Linked DNA regions of Homo sapiens: regions 2 and 3 are each linked to region 1. Evidence: promoter capture Hi-C in human tissues and cell types (Jung and others, 2019). All regions are on one chromosome and are shown on one strand. Each heading gives the region's core, a stretch centred on a gene start or on the middle of the fragment in contact. The rest is flanking DNA. Distances are from core to core; before and after follow the strand shown. Region 1 holds the start of HOXD1 (homeobox D1). Region 2 has its middle 95 kb from the start of MTX2. Region 3 overlaps MTX2 (metaxin 2).

Region 1 (4,280 bases), core at 631-3,130:
CGGGGAGGCTGAGCTTGCAGTGAGCCGAGATCGCGCCACTGCACTTAAAAAAAAAAATTAAATAAATAAATAAATAAAAATTATTTAGGACCTTATCTGACTGGCTATAGCACAACTGAAATAGCAAAATCAAGATTGAAGGGCTATTTTCAGCACAGGTATTCCATTTCCAATCAAACTCAAGAACTCCAGCAGTGCAGGAACCACAGACCTCTTTAACTTTGTGCTGATTCCTAGGCATCCACCCTCTACTGGCTCCCCTCAACCTGGGGACATCCCTCCCCCATCCTGCAGCAACTTCGGGTCCATCAGTAGTCCACATTTTGGTAGGGCTTTGTTTATTCACAAGTCCACAACCCTGGAAGGAACTGGCTCCCTGGGCTGTGATGGCGCCTATTCTAAAGACTTCCTCAGAGTGGAAATTTAGGCAACAACAGCTCAATCGCTCTTTTATGACAAGTCAATCAGTAAAACAATGATAAAACCTCGGTTACCATAACTTAGAGGCTGTAATAGATTAACTTTTCAAGGGCACTTGATATAAGCTCTGAGTAGACTCTTTAGAGTCTTTATTCACACAGGGTTTTAGGAAACCACCCTCTTTCATAACTACTGTGTGTAAATAACCTCTATTTATCTAATTTGTAATTTTCCTACAGTCCCCTCAAAAGGGAACATTAAAAGAAATACTAAAGGAAGTTGGAAAGTTTGTCAATGTAAAGCTGGTCTTTGTAACCTTTCTACTCTTCATTTCCTGTGGCAATTGCACTTTTATTTCCCGTCTCTCTACACTCAGTAAACAAAACCATATTATCAAGGGAAAGACGTGAGCCCATTAACATTGTGAGCCCTCAGATTTCACTCACAAGAGACGATGCAGCACTTATCTGATGGAGCAGAAGCTCTAATTGCTTCGAGGTACAAGTCCATCTAAACCTCTGAGATCTCACCCGTCCCCGGTAAGCCCTTGCGCCCTCCAGACAAGCTCCTCAGTGAAAGCAAGCGCCGCACCGGTGCCTGTGCCAGTCTCCCAGAAAGGAGCATAAGGAGTGTTCCACCACCACTCTGGATTCTTTATTCCAACAACCCAGCCGGAGGGGAAAATCTGCTAAACCACCCCACAAGGCAGAAACTTTATCAAAATCTGGCACTACAACACTGGCCCTCATCACGCCGCCACAAATTGCGAGGGATAGAAGAAAGCTGCAAAGTCACGTTAAAAGGAAGCCTAGTCAAAAAGTGAAAATTTTGTCCCGCCCTAGGCACACAGCACTCACAGCATAAGATGTAGTTCCATGAGTCCTAGGAAAGGGGGAAGAAAGGAAAAAACCAAACATCTGCTCTAGGTTTAGAAGAGGGATAACATCAGCGCCAAGCAAACCGAAAGCGCAGAGGACTCAGAAGAGGGGAAGAGGAATAACTTTATCTGTCCTGGAGGTGGGCGAAGAGCAGTCTCCACCGGCCGCGCGTCACGCTCCCATTTAACCTTTTCCATGCCGCGACGCCCACACTCCGCCCTCGAGGGACTAGCCCCCCCCACGATCCAGAGCAGAAGCGGCTCGCCCCGCTGCATCCACGGGCCCTCACCCAAGCGTCCAGTCCTGCCTTTCTCCCCCCACCTCGCCCAATACCTGTCCGAGAGCAGGCGTTCTGCCCTCTCGCCCCGCCCTTGCCCAGGCAGCCCCCGGTCGCGACGGCTCTCCTCGGGGCTCGGGGGCGCTGGGCGGCGGCCCTGGGCTGCTTTGGCTAACTTGGCTGCGGGGCAGGCGCGAGGAGCGGCGCGCCGACCGGGCCGAGCGGAGAGGCCGCCCATTGGCCGGCCAGCGCCACGTGGCCGCCCCCGCCGGTATATTAGGCCACTATTTACCTCCGGCTCACTCGCCATGGGTTGGAGAGGGCAGCTCGGGTAGAGAGGGCTGGCGGAGCGGCGCAGACGGCGGCAGTCCTGCTCAGCCTCTGCCCGGCTCCGTACTCCGGCCCCGGCCTGCGCCCTCAGAAAGGTGGGGCCCGAACCATGAGCTCCTACCTGGAGTACGTGTCATGCAGCAGCAGCGGCGGGGTCGGCGGCGACGTGCTCAGCTTGGCACCCAAGTTCTGCCGCTCCGACGCCCGGCCCGTGGCTCTGCAGCCCGCCTTCCCTCTGGGCAACGGCGACGGCGCCTTCGTCAGCTGTCTGCCCCTGGCCGCCGCCCGACCCTCGCCTTCGCCCCCGGCCGCCCCCGCGCGGCCGTCCGTACCGCCTCCGGCCGCGCCCCAGTACGCGCAGTGCACCCTGGAGGGGGCCTACGAACCTGGTGCCGCACCTGCCGCGGCAGCTGGGGGCGCGGACTACGGCTTCCTGGGGTCCGGGCCGGCGTACGACTTCCCGGGCGTGCTGGGGCGGGCGGCCGACGACGGCGGGTCTCACGTCCACTACGCCACCTCGGCCGTCTTCTCGGGCGGCGGCTCTTTCCTCCTCAGCGGCCAGGTGGATTACGCGGCCTTCGGCGAACCCGGCCCTTTTCCGGCTTGTCTCAAAGCGTCAGCCGACGGCCACCCTGGTGCTTTCCAGACCGCATCCCCGGCCCCAGGCACCTACCCCAAGTCCGTCTCTCCCGCCTCCGGCCTCCCTGCCGCCTTCAGCACGTTCGAGTGGATGAAAGTGAAGAGGAATGCCTCTAAGAAAGGTAAGTCCGCGGGCCTTGGATGGGGCCACCTGGGGTTGGGGACGGAGCCTCCCCCGCGGAAATGCGCTGGGAGCGTGGTGTCGCTGCCTTTCCAGACAGCGGTTTGGGTTTTGTGGAGGAGACGCGTTCCCGGGCGAATTCCATGGAGTCTGCCTCGAGTACAGATTCGGAAAATGTGCCAGGCATTGAGAAAATTTCAGGAAGGAGCTCTCCGTGGAACTTCTCCTGGTACAAATTCTGTTCCTAGGGACCCAGGAGGGCTGCGCTGGGACTTTGATTCTAACTAGCTCCACTGCTCACCCACATTCTGTCCCCGGCCTCAGGCCTGGCTGACGCCCTGTCTTTACGTTGCAGGCAAACTCGCCGAGTATGGGGCCGCTAGCCCCTCCAGCGCGATCCGCACGAATTTCAGCACCAAGCAACTGACAGAACTGGAAAAAGAGTTTCATTTCAATAAGTACTTAACTCGAGCCCGGCGCATCGAGATAGCCAACTGCTTGCACCTGAATGACACGCAAGTCAAAATCTGGTTCCAGAACCGCAGGATGAAACAGAAGAAAAGGGAACGAGAAGGGCTTCTGGCCACGGCCATTCCTGTGGCTCCCCTCCAACTTCCCCTCTCTGGAACAACCCCCACTAAGTTTATCAAGAACCCCGGCAGCCCTTCTCAGTCCCAAGAGCCTTCGTGAGGCCGGTACTTGGGGCCGAAAAACTGTGGCCTGCAGAAGTCCCAGGCGACCCCCATCCCTATCTAGACTTAGGAGCTCAGTTTGGGATGGAGGTGGGAGAACAAAAATGAATAGGGATTTCACTTGGGAAATGAAGTACTTTAGTTGGCTTCCGAGTTCCAGACTATATGTCCAGATATTAATTGACTGTCTTGTAAGCCACTTGTTTGGTTATGATTTGTGTCTTATCAGGGAAAAGGTGCCCAGCTGCCAGCCCAGCTCCGCTGCTATCTTTGCCTCACTTAGTCATGTGCAATTCGCGTTGCAGAGTGGCAGACCATTAGTTGCTGAGTTCTGTCAGCACTCTGATGTGCTCAGAAGAGCACCTGCCCAAAGTTTTTCTGGTTTTAATTTAAAGGACAAGGCTACATATATTCAGCTTTTTGAGATGACCAAAGCTAGTTAGGGTCTCCTTGATGTAGCTAAGCTGCTTCAGTGATCTTCACATTTGCACTCCAGTTTTTTTTTCTTTAAAAAAGCGGTTTCTACCTCTCTATGTGCCTGAGTGATGATACAATCGCTGTTTAGTTACTAGATGAACAAATCCACAGAATGGGTAAAGAGTAGAATCTGAACTATATCTTGACAAATATTATTCAAACTTGAATGTAAATATATACAGTATGTATATTTTTTAAAAAGATTTGCTTGCAATGACCTTATAAGTGACATTTAATGTCATAGCATGTAAAGGGTTTTTTTTGTAATAAAAATTATAGAATCTGCTGCTCTCTGCTTTTCTTACACTCTTTAATAATGATTCTCTTTCTTTAAAGTTGATTCAGTTTCCTGTATTTGAATTTTCTTGATTCTGCTATGAGAATTTGTTTATGTTGATAACTTTTTTTTTTTTTTGACACGGAGTCTTGCTCTGTTGCCCAGGCTG
Region 2 (4,280 bases), core at 1,178-3,677, 180 kb after region 1:
GCGGGAGAATTGTTTGAACCTGGGAGGTGGAGGTTGCGGTGAGTCGAGATGGTGCCATTGCACTCCAGCCTGGGCAACAAGAGCAAAACTCCATCTCCAAAAGAAAAAAAAAAAAAGAAAAAGAAAAGAAAATATTGGGAAGAAACTTTTTATGACCTTGGAGTAGGAAAAGGTTTTCTATGTAGGTTACAAAAATATTTATGAAAAAACTTTGAAAATTGGACTTAATCAAAATTTAAAACTTTTGCTCTTCCAAAGACAATAAATTAAAAAAGGCTTACCATAGGGGAAAGTTTTGCAATAATATAGCTGATAAAGGTCTTGTATCCAGAACAACAAAGAACTCAGAAATTAATAAAAAGCCAACTAAAAATACAAGGTTAAAAGATGAGCAAAAGACTTAGGCATTTTACAAAAAAAATGCATGAATGACCAATAAATGCATGAAGAAAAAGCTTAATTATATTAGTCATCAGGGAAATGTAAATTAAATCACAATGAAATGTCATCACACACCTATTGAAATGACTAAAATAGAAAAGTTTGATAATATGTGTTGAGAAGGACATGAAACAATTGAAATTCTCATTCACTGCTAGTGGGAGTGTAAATTGGTGCAAGCACTTTAGGAAACTGGCTGTTTCTTAAAAATATATTTACTATATGATTCAGTAATTCTACAGCTAAGTACCCCAGAGGAATGAGGCCATGTCCATGCAAAGATTAATGCCTGGGTGTTCACAATAGCTTAATTCATAGTATCCCACAATTAGAAAAAAGTCCAAAAGTCCATTTACAGGTGAATAGATAAATTATGGTACCTTTAAACAATAGGACACTACTCAGTAAAAAAAGTAACGAACAACTGTTACTTGCAACAGTCTGGGTGAATCCCTAAACCATTACATATGCTGCAGGTAAGAGGGCAGACATGAAAGTACATTCTCTATGCATATATAAATTTTACAATACACAAAGTTAATCTATAATGACAGCAGATCAAGGGTTATCTGAGGTCAGATTTTTGTTGTTGTTGGTTTTCTTTTTGTATTGAATGTATAAGGCACTTGGGGGGGTAATGGAAGAATTCTATATATTGGTTTTGATGTTTATAAGATGTACACATTTGTCAAAATTCACCAAACTTCATTTTATTGTATGTAATTATACCATAATAAAGTTGATTTAAAGAAATGAATTGGGTGACACTTTCTTCTGTTCCCTGAAATTTATATAAGATAAACATTGCAAGCTAAGTTATTTTTTTACTTTTTTGGTTTTTTTGGTTGTTATTGTTTAGTACCTCTCCATTCAGCCAGGGATCACAAACTCAGTTCAGAAGCCACATATGTAATGAATAGAATGAGACCGACTAGTTATTAGACAAAAGGCATAGCAGGGGCTGTGCCAAAGTGGATAATGCATCCCTGTACCTTAAGGCATTAAAGTAAAAGAATTAAAACAACCTGCCTGCCAAACCAAAATGTCTGTAGGCAATATTCAACTGGTTGACCATCATTATGCATCCATTGACTTGTGACTTAAAATATATACCACCATTTAAAGCAGTTTCTCAATGAGGAGTCAAGAAATATCTTGGGAAGCTTTTTCAAATAACACGCAGTCCCTTTACCATCTGCCTAATTGAGGACCACTGGTATACTATGTTGGTATCTAGAGCTAAATAATAATGATCAAGTTGATGGCACCATGTGGCTTTAGTTACTGGCCATTGCTAACAGTTTTCTTTTTGCCAGCAGAGAATGTTAATTTTGCTATGGATTTTAGCAAAACTACACTTGTGCACAATTGCTTTATTAGAGAAATGACAAGAGATAACCATATGCAGCTCTCAAATGACCCACATTATAATGTCTAGTACATGGGCGAAAATTCTGTTTTCTTATTTATTATTCATTTATTCATCCATTCAATAAATATTTAAATGCATGCAAAAATGAGTTCATGATTTCTTTTCTCTGAAGATATTTAAAACTTAGTATTGGGAGGGAGAAAAGCTAGCACTGGTATTCAGATGGCGAATGTTGCTGAGATGGGATTAATGAAGCCTCTTAGGATCAGTTGGACTGCTAGCAAATGCTTCATTTCCTGTGGATTTCTCCCCTCACAAGCTGAGCAGAGCTTCAACAGTTCTCACAACAATTATCACCCACTTGTCCTGTAGGTCTCAAGTTTTTTTGCATTCATCAGGTTGAAGGATTCATGGTATTAATCACAACTGAAGTTGTTATTTATCACCTGCTGGGTGAGAAATAATAATTTTGGCACGAGTGGGGCAGCAGGCCAGAGGTACCAAATTAAGTAAAACATCTAAACACTAGCAAGGATCATTTCTCTGATTAATGAATTGTTACAAAGAAAAAGTGCTACTCATTATCTGGTCTTACCAATACAAAGTGGGGCATGTAAGAAGAAAAGTCCCAGCTTGCTCAGGCCAATTTTTCTGTTTATTTCATTCCTTTCTTTCTTTCTCTCTCTTTTTGAGACAAATCTGTGCACAGATTTGTGTTGCAGTCATGCTATTTTTTGTTTTGTTACCAAATAGAAATGAAGAAATAACTTACGTTTTACATCAGAAAATATTTCTGGCTATTGAAACAATGTTTTTAGTGACTTCTAAGAATTTAAAGTAATTTTGAAATAGGACAGGTAGGTTACCTTTAATTTGTTGAATTACCTTCTCATATGTATATAAATTAAACTTTTTACTCTAAAGAGTCAATGTATTTTTCTTTTTCTACTTTGAATTGGATACTATTGCCAAAGGGCTTGTTTTAGAGAGGGTAAATTTTCATTTCTATTTTTTTTTGTTCTTTGGCAATTCTGAATAAGAAAAGCTCATTTTCACTCTGACACTTAGAGCAATTTTTGTCTTTCACAATGCTATCCAAGAACTTCTACTTCTAGTCATGATGGAGAGGAACAAGGACTGGATGTATCCTCCTGCCTTAAACAATTGTAGAAATCAGACCAAATATATAAAACAATGGTTTAAGACATGAAACAATAGTCAGTTTAGAACAGTGATGCCTGCATGAAAAGAAACAAAATAAGCCATTCAATTACCCAGCTTCTGCTTAGAAGGCATTTCTAGGCTGCCTCACAGGAAAGAGGAGAACCCAAGCAGAGCCCAGCAGTCTCCCTGAGTTGAGAATACAAGAATTCCAGGCCAAGAAGGCCACAGTAGCTAGAATTCACAAAGCAGAGTACTGAAGAGAAGATAACTGCATAAAGAGAGAGAACTCTGGAGATCTGTATAAGGTTCTAGTCTTCAACTGAGTATTGATCATCACATGCTTATGAAGAAACTTCACTAAGGCTGGGAAAGAACTATTGGAAAAGAGCAAGCCAAGCAAGCCTTAGAGTTCAGAGAAGGCTGAAAATAGTTTGTATTCTCCTTAGAGTGAGAAGACCATCTAATACATGTGGCATTGAAGTTCTCAGAACGGTATTCCTTCAGTATTGGGGCCCAATTAGACCTAGACTAATGGTTGTCTAGACCTACCTAACAAAGCTTAAAAGCAAGCATCAAAATCAACATGGTGAAACCTTGTCTCTACTAAAAATACAAAAATTAGCCAGGCATGGTGGTGCATGCATGTAGTCCCACCTACTCTGGAGGATGAGACAGGAGAATTGCTTGAACCCAGGAGGGAGAAGTTGCAGTGAGCTAAGACGGCTGGTGCCACTGCACTCCAGCCTGGGCAACAGAGTGAGACTCTGTCTCAATCAATCAATCAATCAATAGAATTAATTCCAAGACTGCATTCCAGAACAAGGCCTTAAAACAGTTAAGGAACACAAAAATCTCCAGCACCCATTAATGTAAAATTCACAATGTCTGCGACCCAAGATAACATTATCAGGTGTGCAAAAAGCAGGAAGAGAAAAATCAATCAGTAGAAATAGACCCAGAAATGACACAGATGACACAGATTAGTAGACAAAGATGTTAAAACAGCTATTATATAACATACTTTTTATGTTCAAGAAGGTAGACAAGGGAATGCTATCTAAAGAGTTATTCTAGGTATATTGATATTACTAGAACTTTGAAAGTGTGCTAACGACTGAATAAATGCAAACAAGCCAGGATTAGTATGATTAACTTTTCAGAAGATGCATTTCAGTAAGTATACAAAGGCTTGGGAAAAAATTTGTGATTGTATTTTCAAAAAATAGGAAAAGGGAATTATCCTGAATTAAAAATGCTAAATATATTTATGCTATGCTAGAAATTATCTTAAGGTGATTTATAT
Region 3 (4,280 bases), core at 1,031-3,530, 140 kb after region 1:
CAATACATCTATTGAGTTGTTGTGTTCCAAAAGGCCTGCCTTTTCTTTGTAATGCATGTTGTCCTATGGATGCAGTTGAAGCTTTTGTTAGGCCTCTGTACTTCATCCATTACCCCCAGGCTGACGGAGCCAGAGAGGAGTGAATCTATTGAAAAGGAACAGGAAGAAGCCTGCTGTTAGTGTGAACTCTATTTGAACTAGGTGTGACAGCAGGTTTCATTCTTTAGCATTTGGAGTAGACCCTTCTTGCTATTTGGAGATTATTTTGTTCTCTCATCTCTAATAATTCCAAGTATTAGTATTTGTTAAAGTGAAATATTTCTTTTTTAATGTGACATTTATCTATAGAAGCTAGTTTTTATAAACATACTATTATTTTTTCCCACATGTTGGGAACATACTCTGTATTACAACTCACCAACTAGCATGCCTTCAAAGATTGTTAATTCTTTTAATTCTTGCTATTTTGAGTTAAAGAGATTTATTGATATACAATTACTTGCTTAAAATGTTGATCTCAATGGGTATCAAAGACTTAAAAGATGTAAAAAGGTTTTTTAAATGTAGTTTACAATATAGATTGATTCACTGTACTCTGAAAAGAAAGCTTACATTTCTTTGAAATATATCAGTGGTCATGTACCAGTGTCCTGGCTTGGTTCATGTAATTTGGATAATTAGTGTTTGCTGCTATATGGTGATATGTTTGTGTTGGCTCTGAAAAGAGAATGTTATGTGATCTGTTATTATATCTAAGTGAGAACTCTAGAAATGAATTTACCTGTTCTTTTTTTCTAAAGTTGGTTAGTAATCAGTTTAAAAACTTACAGAATTTAATATACACATCTGACAAAAATTTTCAAAAGTTACAGTTTTATGAAATCCCTATTTATAAATACCTGAGTTTTGTGTTAATTTTTTTTAATTATCACAAACTTTAACATACTGGAAGTATTTTTATAAATACTTTTTTTTTCTCTCAACAGGTAAAGTACCTTTTATTCATGTGGGAAATCAAGTAGTATCAGAACTTGGTCCAATAGTCCAATTTGTTAAAGCCAAGGTAATAAAAAGATATTAAATGTATTTGATCAGTTACCAAGTCATTCATCATTCTTTAATGTGTCTTAACATTTACATTGATTTCAACCTAGTTTTATAAAATGCCAATGCAAACTACTGGAAAATATTTCTGAAGTGTAAGTTAGTATTTTTTCATGATATAATGGCAAAAGAGGTAGCTTTTTTTCCTCTATTAATGTCAAATTTATTAAAGGTATGTAATTTTAATATCTAGTCTAAAGAGATGGTTTGATCTTTACAAAATGGTAGATAATTTTCTAACTTATGCTTACTACAACTGTGGTCATAAATGAAAAACTATTAGGTTTTGAAGTGTCTGGCTGACCTTTGAAAAGGGAGATACAGGATTTGTTTGAAGTTGAATGTATTTATCCATTTGAATGATTCTGCTTTTCATTTATTCAGTTTAGATTTTAATAGTTATTAAGGAACAACTCCCATTAGTGTTTCTGAAAAATCATTCCAGACTTTTTGAATATATAGAAAAACCTAGATCATACTAGTGTGTATTATTTTGCAACATACCTTTTAAAATCATAAATATGTTTGGAAATTCTTCCATATTAATAGCTGTAGGTATATATCATCCTTTCACATTGTTGTATTCTGCTGTATTGGAGATATATATATATCTCCAAAATATATATATATATTATTTTTTTTTTCTTCAACACCCTCCCCCTGTATTGGATAAATTAGAATTTTATTTACTCAAGTTTATTGTTGGGCTTTTAGGTCATGGCCAATTTTTTGTTTTTATAGAGTACTAAGATAAATTTTCTTATATATACATCTTTGTATAAATTCCTAAGGTTGGTATTGGTACCTTAGGATAAATTCCTGAGAGTGGTATTAGGATGTCATAGGTTATGTACTTTTTAAATCTTGTAATAGATTGCCAGATTGAACTAAAGGTTATATCATTTTATGTATCTCCTAGTAACTATAGAGTATTAGAATTTTAAAATAAGTGGGTTTCTCCCCCCATATCTTTACAAACGTATTTTTTTCATCTTTGACCACTTTATAAACAGCACATGTCAGTCTTTTGGCATTTCCTTTATTTCTAAATAAGGTTAATCTCTTAAACAAGGTTTGCTGACCATTCTGTTTTCTTCTTTTGTGAAGTAGTTGATAGTGTAATTTTCTCTATTGAAAGATACATTTGTATAATGACAAGTAAGTACATACTAATATTTTGTAGTGATAGCAGAGTATTATTTATGCTTTTATATAAAATAATTTTTAGGGGGCATTTTGGACGTTTAATTCATTGTATAGTTGCATGTTACGTTATTTGTTAGTGAGATAACTGAAAGTTTTTGTATATTTAATATGATGTTCTTTTAAATTTTTTTAAATTCCCTTTAGGGCCATTCTCTTAGTGATGGGCTGGAGGAAGTCCAAAAAGCAGAAATGAAAGCTTACATGGAATTAGTCAACAATATGCTGTTGACTGCAGAGGTAAAATACTAGATGATACGGCTTGAAAATAAGCTTTTTCTCTCATTCTCATAAAATATAATCTTTCTTATGGGTTAAAGTTATTGAGAAATGGGAAAATAGTCAAGTAATTCTAGAGTTGAGTTGGCTACCTAAATTATTTGATTATTACCTTTGAACAAGTTACCTGACATTTTCAGTTCTAGTTTTTCTGTTTATAAAAAGGAGTGATTCTTGCCTACTCATTATTTTACTTTGGCCTTTTGAAATTTGCTTAAATAATATCTGTAAAACACTTTAATGGTATTTAGACATGTATTGTGTGAATAAAAAATATTTTTATAACGTACCATCATTACATTTTTGTGGATAGCAGCTAAGAAAAACAAACCGCTACATGTGTGACTTATGAAATTAGCTTATAAAAAATTGCCTTGGCAAAAAATAACTTTCTTTATCCTTTTCCTCTTTGGTATTCTAAAGTTTAGTGACTGTTCTTTTGTTCCTAGCTGTATCTTCAGTGGTGTGATGAAGCTACAGTAGGGGAGGTGAGTGGTTCTGTAACATTTATCTTAATTAAAATTTAATGAGAAAACACTTTTGCTCAGAATCGCAAGTCCCTGCTCATAAATGAAACATTGTGGTTTATACCATTAGTGATATAGTTTTTCACTTACTTTAATTTTGCTTGCACATAACATTTTAGGGAAGCTATGTGTCATTGTTTGATATAACGGGTTGCAAAGTACATAAAAGTTTATATATTTTTAAAGGGAATGGCTTAAAATTTTAATTTTTTAGATTGCAGGATGTGTATTTTTTTCAGATTGCTCTATTTATGTTCTCTGAAAATATATTTCTTTTAGAATTCTATTTGTAAAAACGGGCATTGTTTTTAGGAAGGATCACCTTTTTTACAAAATCTTTTTACTTTAGATCACTCATGCTAGGTATGGATCTCCTTACCCTTGGCCTCTGAATCATATTTTGGCCTATCAAAAACAGTGGGAAGTCAAACGTAAGATGAAAGCTATTGGATGGGGAAAGAAGACTCTGGACCAGGTCAGTTCAGGTTGAAGTTGACAAAACCCTCAACTTTTATGCATTAAAAGAATCATTCTTTATATTGATACTCCTTTAAAAAAATATATATAAGATTTGCAAGAAAACCATTTCCTGTGATTTTCACTAACATGAAGTAATTTTATTTCTAAAAAATCATACATGCTTGATGTAAAGCAAACAATGCAATGCAGATATGTGTAAAAAAGCAATAAAACTTGCCTGAAATCTCATCACCTAGAAAATACCACCCTTAACTATTTGGAGAGCCTTCTTCTAGATGTTTCTTAGTAACATTTTCTCAAATGGGATCATTATGCCTGCTACTGTATAACCTGAGGGTTTTTTTTTTTTTTTAATTGAACAATACATTGTGGGCACCTTTTATGTAACTAAATATAGATCTGCAGCATCAGGGCTTAAAAAAAAAGCCCTGTTAAATACAGTACTTTGTCCGTCTGTCTGTCTATCTATCTGTCTATCTGTCTATCTATCTGTCTATCTATATTTTTGCTACTAAAGTAGCAAAACTTAAAAATACTTATCTTGTCCACAAGCATCATTAAGTTAATTAATGCCCGTCTTTTCCAAGGCTACCCTTAATACTAGCCAGCCATCTCACTGATGTGTGCCATTGGCTACAAGGGGGTTTCAGTAAATGAATAGGGATAGAATAAATAAAAATCTATCTC

The links. The method cuts DNA at HindIII sites, captures the fragments that hold promoters and counts their contacts. A contact is called where the count stands out against the background at its distance.
Region 2: a contact is called between a fragment that was not itself captured here and the fragment with the promoter of HOXD1 in region 1, in 2 of the 25 tissues and cell types used here (hippocampus and mesendoderm cells).
Region 3: a contact is called between a fragment that was not itself captured here and the fragment with the promoter of HOXD1 in region 1, in 2 of the 25 tissues and cell types used here (H1 embryonic stem cells and hippocampus).

What each region holds. Positions count from the first base shown.
Region 1 is chr2:176,186,788-176,191,067 of GRCh38, forward strand. It overlaps HOXD1 (homeobox D1), which reads left to right and starts at 1,881. Exons shown (of 2, transcript NM_024501.3): 1 at 1,881-2,666; 2 at 3,021-4,120. The coding sequence starts at 2,015. The coding sequence ends at 3,355. HAGLR (HOXD antisense growth-associated long non-coding RNA) reads right to left here and starts at 2,171. Exons shown (of 3, transcript NR_033979.2): 1 at 2,027-2,171. MIR7704 (microRNA 7704) reads left to right here and starts at 2,056; the gene lies at 2,056-2,114. The HindIII fragment of the contact is 12,505 bases long and covers 1-4,280 here.
Region 2 is chr2:176,362,606-176,366,885 of GRCh38, forward strand. No RefSeq gene overlaps it. Among named protein-coding and RNA genes, the nearest start is that of MTX2, 95 kb to the left of the region's middle. The HindIII fragment of the contact is 4,605 bases long and covers 126-4,280 here.
Region 3 is chr2:176,325,839-176,330,118 of GRCh38, forward strand. MTX2 (metaxin 2) reads left to right here. Exons shown (of 10, transcript NM_006554.5): 5 at 987-1,063; 6 at 2,455-2,547; 7 at 3,036-3,074; 8 at 3,463-3,588. Among named protein-coding and RNA genes, the nearest start is that of MTX2, 59 kb to the left of the region's middle. The HindIII fragment of the contact is 3,873 bases long and covers 345-4,217 here.